Regions from separate parts of the Homo sapiens genome. Here all the other regions are linked to region 1. Evidence: promoter capture Hi-C in 16 types of primary human blood cells and fetal thymus (Javierre and others, 2016). All regions are on one chromosome and are shown on one strand. Each heading gives the region's core, a stretch centred on a gene start or on the middle of the fragment in contact. The rest is flanking DNA. Distances are from core to core; before and after follow the strand shown.

Region 1 (3,308 bases), core at 544-3,043:
CGTGGTGGCAGGTGCCTGAAGTCCCAGCTACTCAGGAGGCTGAGGCAGGAGAATGGCGTGAACCCGGGAGGCGGAGCTTGCAGTGAGCCGAGACCACGCCACTGCACTCCAGCCCGGGCACAGAGCGAGACTCCGCCTCAAAAAAAAAAAAAAAGAGAGAAACACTTATTTCGTTTGGAAAGAGATTGAGGACTGGAGAAGAGGTGTACTTAAATTTGACTTACTTCATTTGTCCAACATTTATTGTACTGGACTCTACAAATACGAATATTAAAGGAGACTGCTATAAAGTTCACAGTTTATCATCCTAAGTACGTGTTATACACGCTATTTGCTATATTTTGCTTTCTCTGAGAACCTACTATTCCGCAAGGTGTGAAACGTTTAAGAAGTACATATAGCAGTTAGGTCAAGAATCCTGACCACTATAGGAGGCCAGAGTGAGAGTAAGAATGAGTAAATGTATATCCAAAACAATGAGTGGAAATAAATTACGGCCTCCACGGTAATTTGTTTTTGGTTAAGCAATATAAATTCAGCCAAGTGTAAAGCAGAAAAAGCACTTGGGAAGGAATATCTCCACAATGTGGACTTTGCCCAAAAAAAAAAAAAAAAAAATCTGGACTCCCAACAGTGGCTACAAGAGAATCACTATGATTCTATTAAAGCATATTAAGTTTAGAGCCACAAATTTAGCAATTTGAAAAACAGCTCCACACAAGGCAGGAAAAGGGCAGCAGCAGAATTCAACGTTCAAATTAAGGTCAGATTAAATTTTGCCTAGTTAGGCTAGCATTTCTATGGTTATATGGACCATCGTTATTCATTCCCTTTCAACATCTATGCAAAACTGACTAATCAACTGTGTTATCAGCAGTTTGCTAAATCAATAAACGTACCTACTACCCACCCAGATAGACACTGGAGGGACTTTTTGTTTTGAGAAGGGTCATTTCACAACTTTCAAGTTCTCTTTCCTTTTCTTATTGAATATTTGGGGTCAAAATAAAATCATTTGCTTTACTTTGTCCTCTTGACCACAGCGAAGCGTCGAAAAGAAGACAGGAGAGTGCCTAACTGCACTGGCATCCCCCAGCTGTCTCCGGGAATCGCGGCAGCCCCGCCCCGCCCGCCTGCACCTGCCGGGAGCCCCGCCCCCTCCGCGCGGGCTGGCGGGACGCGCGCCCTCGGCCCCGCCCCACTCCCTCCGCCCCTCTCACTGCGGGGGCGCGCCATTTCGCGCCTCCGGGCCGCTCGGCTGCCCCAGGGGCGCCTGGCAAACGTGGAGTCGCTCGGTTTTGGAGGCATGCTTTCCAAACTTTCTAATTCACAGGGTCTTTGCACGCAGCCCCTGCCCCACAACACCTTGGCAGTCTCTGAGACTTCTGGGGCTCTTCTCCCGGGCAGCTCCCGTGCCTGTCCGGTCCCGGAGTTGAATAGTTTTTGAAGTAATGAGACGGGAACGAGACTTGGGACGAACTGGAGAAAAACATAACCGCGAAAGGAGGAGGCGGCTATCACTTACTGGCTGTGTCAGAAGTCGCCGGGAACGCGTTGCTCCCGAGGCCGAAGGGCCCAGAGAGCTCCAGCCAGGCAGCGGGTTCGTCTCCGGCGCAAGAAGGCTGGTGAGGCGGAGTGCGCGCGTGCACGTGGCCGCTCGAGGCGCCACCGGCCGCGGGGACGCGCGGGCTGTGTCGGGCGGCCTAGCGCCTGCGGCTCTGCCGGGCCTGCGCTCTCGACCGACGCCGGGCCGCGCACCGCCTCAACTTCCCTGCCCCGGCGGCTCTTCCGGATGGAGACGAGGCAGCGGGGCGGGGTGGAGCGGAGCGGGCGGATTGGGGCGGAGCCAGGAGGGTCCCGGGCGGGGAGAGGGGCGGGACCCGAGCAGTGACCTCAGGCTAAGTGGCCAGAGCAGGGTTGTGCGGCGGCTCAGATCGGATCTTAGGGTTTGTTTTTTGTCTGTCCAAGGAATTTGCCTAACCCAAGGCCACAGAGGATCTCTTCTGTGTTTTCTGACACAAGTTTTAGAATTTTAGGTTTTATATTGAGGTCTGTGATCCAATTAGAGCTAATTTTTGTCTGTGGTGCAAAGTATGGATCTTAGGTCATTTTTTTGTATGTGAATAGTGTCATTTGTTTAGAGAGCTTTCTTTTTCTCACTGAATAGCTTTTGCACCTATGTTTAAAATCAGTTGTCCCTAAAGCATCAGTTGTGGGTCTATTCTTAGACTTTCTATTCTGTTCCGACAATTTATTATATTTCTCTCTACAAAAATACCACATTGTCTTGATTCCTGTAGATTCGTAAGAGTCTTAAAATCAGATCGTGTTTGGCCTCCAATTTTTTGTTATTTTTCAAAAATGTTCTGGCTCATCTAGTCCCTTGGGTTTTCATATGAATGTTAAAATCAGCTTGTCACTTTAAAAAGTTGGGATTGTGATTGGTTACATTTCGTCTATAGATCCATGTAAGAATAATTTACATGTTAACAATATTTAGTAATGACCCTTAAAGTAAGCCTCTTCATTTATTTAGGTGTTATTTCACTCAGCAAATGTTTTGATCTTTTGTCAGGTCTAGTCTTATATAGTCCATTTTCACAGTGCTAATAAAGACATACCTGGGACTGAGTAATTTATAAAGGAAAGACGTTTAATTGACTTACAGTTCAGCATGGCTGGGGAGACTTCAGGAAACTTAAAATCATGGCAGAAGCGGGAGCAAACCTCCTTCTTCACAGGGCTGCAGGAAGGAGAAGTGAGGAGCAAGGAGGGAAAAGCCCCTTAGAAAACCATCAGATCTTGTGATACCTCACTCACTATCAGAGAACAGCATGGGAATAACCACCCCCATGATTCAGTTACCTCCCACCGGGTCCCTCCCACAACACCTGGGGATTATGGTAACTACAGTTCAAGATGAGGTTTGGGCAGGGACACAGCCAAACCATATCACCCTATGTCAGATTTATCCATAAATCTAAGGATGGGGGAAAAATATACTTCTTGATATTATGTAAATGACATTTTAAATTTTCAGTTGTTCTTTGATAGTGTCTTAGTCTGTGTTGCTAAAAAGGAATGCCTGAGACTGAATAATTTACAAATAAAAGAGGTTTATTTGGCTCACACTTCTGCAGGCTGCTTCTGGTGAGGGCTTCAGGCTGCTTCCACTCAGTGAAGGGGAGGCTGCCTGTGCAGATCACATGGCCAGAAGAGAAGCAAGAGAAAGGGGAGGTAGTGGTCAGGCTCTTTTTAACAATCAGCTCTGGAGGCAACTAACAGAATGAGAACTCATTATGCAATGG
Region 2 (3,229 bases), core at 67-2,566, 370 kb before region 1:
AATTCCTAAAAACAAGTAGAAAGCTTATAAACAACAGGTGATACACTCACCTCACTGGTTTTAGTAAATTACCAATACAGAAAGTATCCCTAGTCTTAAAAACAAGTGGAAAATTTGAACTGATTAGTCATATTCCTTTGATTACACTGTTTGTTACAATATTTTTCTCAGTAAACAGAAATAACTAATTTTTTTGTTCTTCATTCTTTGATAGAAATTAAAATCTTATTCTGTGAGGATTACAGAATACTATAACTCAAATTATAAAGTAGAATAAACTCTTTAAATAATTATTCTTCATCATAAAGTGTAAAGAATAAGATATAAGAAAACAATTTATTTTTAAAATTTAATATACTAAATGCTCAAATATGTTCTACTATAGAATAAGTTCTTATCTTAATTTACAGGGCACTAAAAACAATTTTAAAATGCTTAATGTTGCCTTTTATATTTTAATTGGTTAAGAATATATATTTGTTTAATGCAAATCAGAATCACTATATTAAAATGAATGTTCTTGAAAACTCAGTGGGGCTGCTCTATAATACACTTACAATTGATACTAACGATAAAACGCTCTAATTATAGTTTTAATTTTATAGGGGTTTTTTTGGTGACTTTCCCCAAATAAAACAAAATCAAGACGCCCAAGTCCAGACACACAAGAGGGCAGACGTATATAAGATAACAAATTGCTACTACATAGCGATTATTTATCTTTTGATTATTTTTGAGACTTCTGGCAAAGTAGGACTATAATAAATTTTCAGAAAAGATCTGCTCTTCTGCTAAGTAACAGCACACTTCAAAATGTCCAGAAATTTTATGCTAATATTACATAGAAAACTTGACAGATGAAAAAAGTGAAACACATTACTAATTTTATTCATTAAAACAGGTATATAAAAGTCCTCTTTAACTACCTAATGAATGTGTCATATCCTAATATAGGGAGTGTCATAGTGTTCACATCTTTGAATATATAAATTATCTCAAACAGTTAAAAAATTAAAGCCAGAACAGGGTACAAAAATAAGAATAAAAATAAGAAAACTTTCTGTTCACAGGACGTAACAGAATACTTTAAACACTCTCAAGTTATAAATAAAACTTTTTCATTATTATTTCATGTTAGACAAAAAACAAGTCATTTTACTTTAACTCATTTTATCAATTTTTTTTTTTTAAATCAAGAGACAGGGTGTTACTCTGTCATGCAGGCTGGAATGCAGTCACATGATCATTGCACACTGCAGCCTTGAACTCTTGGGGTGCAAAGGATTCTCCAACCTTGGTTCCCAAGTAGCTGGCACTACAGGGGCACATCACCATATATGGCTAATTCTTTTTATTTTTTGTAGAGATGGGGTCTCATTGCCCAGGCTGGTCCCAAACTCCTATCCTCAAGCTATCCACCCCCCATCAGCCTCCCAAAGTGTTGGGATTACAGGGGTGAGCTACCATGCTTGGTCCAAATTTTTTGTTTATACAAGGGAAAATCTCCAGTAAAATATGTATAGGTGCCAATACCATAACTGTTCAAACACCCTTATGACTAAATAGGCACAAAATTTCATCTTTTTAATGACTGCCACCTGAAGTTCAGAAACATCCTAGGGAAAAAAGGATAAACAACTTCATCAATAAAGAGGCTACTATTATTTCACTACTGTCTGGGAGATCCATCGTGGGCTTACAGGAATCCAAATGGATACTGCCGTTACGTGTAGAAGTGTTTATCCTCCATCCCTTCCACCCTACCTTCCCCAAGAAAAGGAACTCAAGGGGGCCATGGAAAGGGAAGGAGTCTTCCCAAAAAGACCAGACTGTTTTTCCTCCTCTGTCATAGTCCCTATAGAGTCAGGCAGCTTAGGGGTTGCAGGGGGTGGGTAGCATAAGTGTGATGTACTACCGAGGAAAGAGTCAAAGACTAGCAGTAGGCATTACACATGGAGCCTTCTGTCATAAACCATCTGAGGGCATAATGGCTTCTTTTCATTCACAAAGGAAAATGATTCAGAGTACTACACTCCTGCACTCTTGATGATTTAGCAGAAAACCATGGAAATCAAGGAACAACACACACATAAGAATGTGTGTCTGGCTCAATAATTATTCTGGACTAAGTCCTAGGAAGAGCAAACCTTCAATGTTACAAATTAACCTGGGGAGTGGGGAGCTGTGAGAATCAAATGAGATAAAATACTGTGAAAGCTACAGAATTCTATAACATATAAATCTAAGGTTTTATTAGATTATGACTTTCAGCCAAATTCCTTTTCTTAGTTGTAAAAATATTGTTTTTTCATGGTGAGTGTTTAGGAGTTGTGCTTGCAAATCACAATTTATCAGACGGCCTGGTCCTTATTAAGGTTCTTCTCTTTATGTAAAAATTAGACTAAAAGAAAATCAGTGTTTCTATGATTTTTATCTTTTTTCCTTTTTAGAGACGGGGTCTGGCCATGTTGCCCAGGCTAGTCTCAAACTCCTGGACTCAGGCAATTCTCCTGCCTTGGCCTCCCAAATTGCTGGGATTACAGGCGTGCGCTACAGTGCCTGGCCAGAAGTCAATGTTTCAAAGAGGCTTTTAAGAAACAACTATGATGAAAGCTTTTAAAATAAAGATAATACTACTTGGAGGCTCCAAGAAGGTATTTAACAACTTTTTTCTGTAGTTTTCTAAGGAGGAAATTAGAAGGGAAGCAGTCATTTAATGATTACAACTTAGTTTGTCTAGTTTTCTTTACCTGAATTCATCTTTCTACTCCAAAACTTAAAAGCGCTATAAAGAGACCATCCCAAATAAAGTTAATCAAGAAGTAGGGCTTTCCAGGGTATATGCAAATTTTGCTCTTTAGTTGCCTTCTCTCTCTACTATGCACTAGAAAGAAGATTTAAAAACAAATTTATCTCAACAGTGTGTCCCCAACCTCCCTACCCTCCTCTGCATTGCTTTGAGGCTAAGAAAAACACCTTGTTTAAACCAGAGATTTGTCCAAGCAGAATAAAAAGCATGAATCAGTATTTACTCCTTGAAATTTGCCCAATTATCTCTATCACACCTACTCTAGTTTGGAATAGCATACTCAGCCCCACTGGACAGCTCCAATTCTGTGTAAAGACACCAGCTGGAGAAACAACTGCCTGGATCTCTGTTTTCCTATAATGACAAACATTTGAAAACTAAAACTTGACAGTATTTGAAAAATTAGGTTTCCTATTTTTC
Region 3 (2,949 bases), core at 386-2,885, 390 kb before region 1:
TTATAAGGAAATGTAACTGACCAAATCTTGAAAATTATTACATTTCAAAAACAAATCAAATTCATTTACAAGCCTGATCAGCCTTACATGAACTAATGTTTAGGAATAACAAGTTTACAGAACCAAGAGAAAAAAGAGAATTTAACAGATTTATTTACATAGATGGAATCACAGTGTTGTTTTTTAAGGTTTATAATGGCAAAAATTATATCCCCTGATATTCAATAAGAAAATTCACAAATTATGGTGTATTATATGCCAAACTCACATTTACATAGTAAAAATAAGACATTAAAATTTGTAACATATATTTTTAATAAACAGCACACAAAAATGCCCAAGCATATTTAAAATTATTCTCCAATGAACAGGTAATGTTTTAGGGTTTTTTAGAGTTTTTAAAAGCTTAACATGCCTGAAGATAAGGACTTTTTTTTTAAGTGCATTCCTTACCTAATAGAGTGCCTGACAACCAGTAAACCAGTAGTTTAAAGAAATGAATTAAGAACTGGCTTCTTGTGAAATTTACATGTTTAACAAAATTAGCTAAAATTAATAGCTACTTTCAAAATAACCACATTTTTCAAGCTAGTTTAGTATAATCAGAACATTTGGGCTTCAAAGAGACTTTAGAAATTAATTCGATCTGCCTTCCATTTATTTACGAGAAAACTACAGTACAGAAAGATTCATTTTCTGAAAATCATAGAGTAAGGTAGAGAGAGGACAAAAAAATGAGAATGACAGTTCCAATTCAACTCCTCATTAATATTCCTTGACCAACCTTCAACCACTCCAAAAATCTCTTATATTATGGTTACACAAAACTATGGAATGCCATTGTTTTGGACTGAGACTTAATAGCCCACGCCAAACCACAATGCAGTCACTCTGGTTTGTTTTGGGCTGAGTCTTAACAGACCAGACCAAACAAGAATGGAGCCACTCCTGCTAGGAGCCACATAACCAAACTGAACTTCAACATCACCAAGTTTTCCCAAAAAAAAAAAAAAAAAAAAAAACAGGATATTCACAGCAACCAATCAGAAAGGGCCCAGTTTACCTGAATTAGCATGATAAAGAAGTCTGTTTTAACCTTATAAGGAAAGTAACTTACAATAACCAATTCACTTTTTGTTCCTTCTTTCTTTAGCCTCTTTCTGCCTAGAAAGCCCACCTCCTCCACTTAGCTCATCTGATGGCCTATTTTTATAGAGACACTGCCCAATTCATGAATCATTAATCAAAGCCAATTAATTAAACTCAATTTGTTGAAATTGTTTTTTGATGTTACACACACGTCAAAGTGTGAACAAGTTAAAGAATTAAGTGCAAGAAAAATCTCAACTTTTCAGAGGCAATCATTAGGGACAAAGAAAATTAGTTTATCTAAGTTTCTGAGGGCCTTTATTCTCTCTTCTTTCAACTTATCCTTTTTAAGAGTTCACTTGTAATAGAAAAATAATATTCTAAATATCCATTAAGTATAAAAATATCTTATTGAGCCTTCTAAGGGATAAACAGTGTGTAGAGCTTAAAAAAATCAATCAGTCTCTATTCATGAAGTTTATGGCAAGGAAAATAAATAGACCTATATAATATAAAAAGTCCCCCACCAACTTCAGATTTATCTGACTTTTCTGAATTATAAGAGATATTCACTTATTACTTGTATAATTAGAAATTAAGAACAAGCAAAACAGGGCTTCTCCCCACCTACTTCTGAATAATGAAGGAGTTCTATAAGAACAAGACAGTAAGGAAAATAATTCGGATAGAAGAAATAACATATAATGGCAGAGTTGTCAAATCGTTATGGTAGGCATACATGGCAATGGACAGATCAGGAACGATGTTTTATGTAATTCTGTAAAGAGTGGGTTTTTCATCTCGAAAGAGAAATCAATAAAAAGTTCTCAGCATGTGAATGACAATCAAATGTGCACTTGGATATCAGAGTAAAAACTGAGTAGGAAAGAGTCACAACGAAGGGTAGAAAAACTAGTTAATAAACGTCTATGAAAGTTAAGAGGAGAGTTGGTCAGGCTATGAGAACAAAGACATATTTCACAATCTGCATTTGGTTTCTAAGTGAATGGGGAGTCTGGCAGAAGACAGAAAAGGTATGAGCCTCCAATTTCAATTTTGTATCAAAATCAGTGATAGTGCCACCACAAAGTTTGCGAATGCGAGGAGCTCAAAGGGCTGAGATATCAACCACAAAGATAAGAAATTTAATATGTCTGGAGAAATACTACAATCATTAAATTGAAATAGAACCTTCTTAACAATGTAACAGCATCATGATCGGGACCCTATAGAATTTTGAAGCAAGTATTTGGAGACCTAAGGGTTGGTTTTTGTTGTTAAATTTGTTTTGTGATGTATGTGTTTCCCTTTGTTATTTTTGGCTTTGGTTCTGTCCGTTTCCTTTGTACAAAACATGCACTTCTCTTAGAAGTCATACTGCTTATTATTACACGTGCTCATTTGACTCTCAATTGGGAATTTCTTTTTCTCCTGGTGTTATCTTGCACTAGTGGTTACCTTCTAAATGTTAAATTTTCATTTCCATATTATTTGTATACTGATAAACCATAATTTCCTTGAAGCCACGTAGCATGCTATAGCATTTCTATCACTTAGAATGTTTAATAACTTTCCAAAATTTATGTAGACCTATATGAGTCCTTTTCTTAATCCATCTGGCCTCTCTTAATGTCAATGCTCTTCTCCACCCCTCATCAAGATGAGGAAAGAGAATTTGCCCAGAATTCAGATATTTATGAAAAAATAAAATGTTTGGGTCTCCAGGTTATCTGGCAAATCAAGTGAAAAGTGAACCTACCTCCCCCAAATGACCCCTAAGCTTTATAGGTTACTTTATCACTGGGTTATATCAACAGCCCCCCAACTCCAGTTGATGAGTAAATCTTATTTTCTTTTCCC

Evidence for each region. The method cuts DNA at HindIII sites, captures the fragments that hold promoters and counts their contacts. A CHiCAGO score of 5 or more calls a contact.
Region 2: a fragment that was not itself captured here is called in contact with the fragment with the promoter of MCM9 in region 1 in 3 of 17 cell types (non-activated CD4 T cells, total CD4 T cells and naive CD4 T cells); the score reaches 6.2 in non-activated CD4 T cells.
Region 3: a fragment that was not itself captured here is called in contact with the fragment with the promoter of MCM9 in region 1 in 1 of 17 cell types (total CD4 T cells); the score reaches 5.6 in total CD4 T cells.

What each region holds. Positions count from the first base shown.
Region 1 is chr6:118,933,366-118,936,673 of GRCh38, forward strand. MCM9 (minichromosome maintenance 9 homologous recombination repair factor) reads right to left here and starts at 1,794. Exons shown (of 14, transcript NM_017696.3): 1 at 1,526-1,794. LOC124901389 (a long non-coding RNA gene) reads left to right here and starts at 1,550. Exons shown (of 2, transcript XR_007059729.1): 1 at 1,550-1,625. RefSeq lists silencers at 1,043-1,292, 1,543-1,972. The HindIII fragment of the contact is 20,540 bases long and covers 1-3,308 here.
Region 2 is chr6:118,561,186-118,564,414 of GRCh38, forward strand. The region is part of intron 3 of CEP85L (centrosomal protein 85L); the gene reads right to left. It overlaps PLN (phospholamban), which reads left to right. Exons shown (of 2, transcript NM_002667.5): 2 at 1-531. Among named protein-coding and RNA genes, the nearest start is that of PLN, 15 kb to the left of the region's middle. The HindIII fragment of the contact is 2,590 bases long and covers 22-2,611 here.
Region 3 is chr6:118,541,902-118,544,850 of GRCh38, forward strand. The region is part of intron 3 of CEP85L (centrosomal protein 85L); the gene reads right to left. Among named protein-coding and RNA genes, the nearest start is that of PLN, 4.9 kb to the right of the region's middle. The HindIII fragment of the contact is 2,464 bases long and covers 404-2,867 here.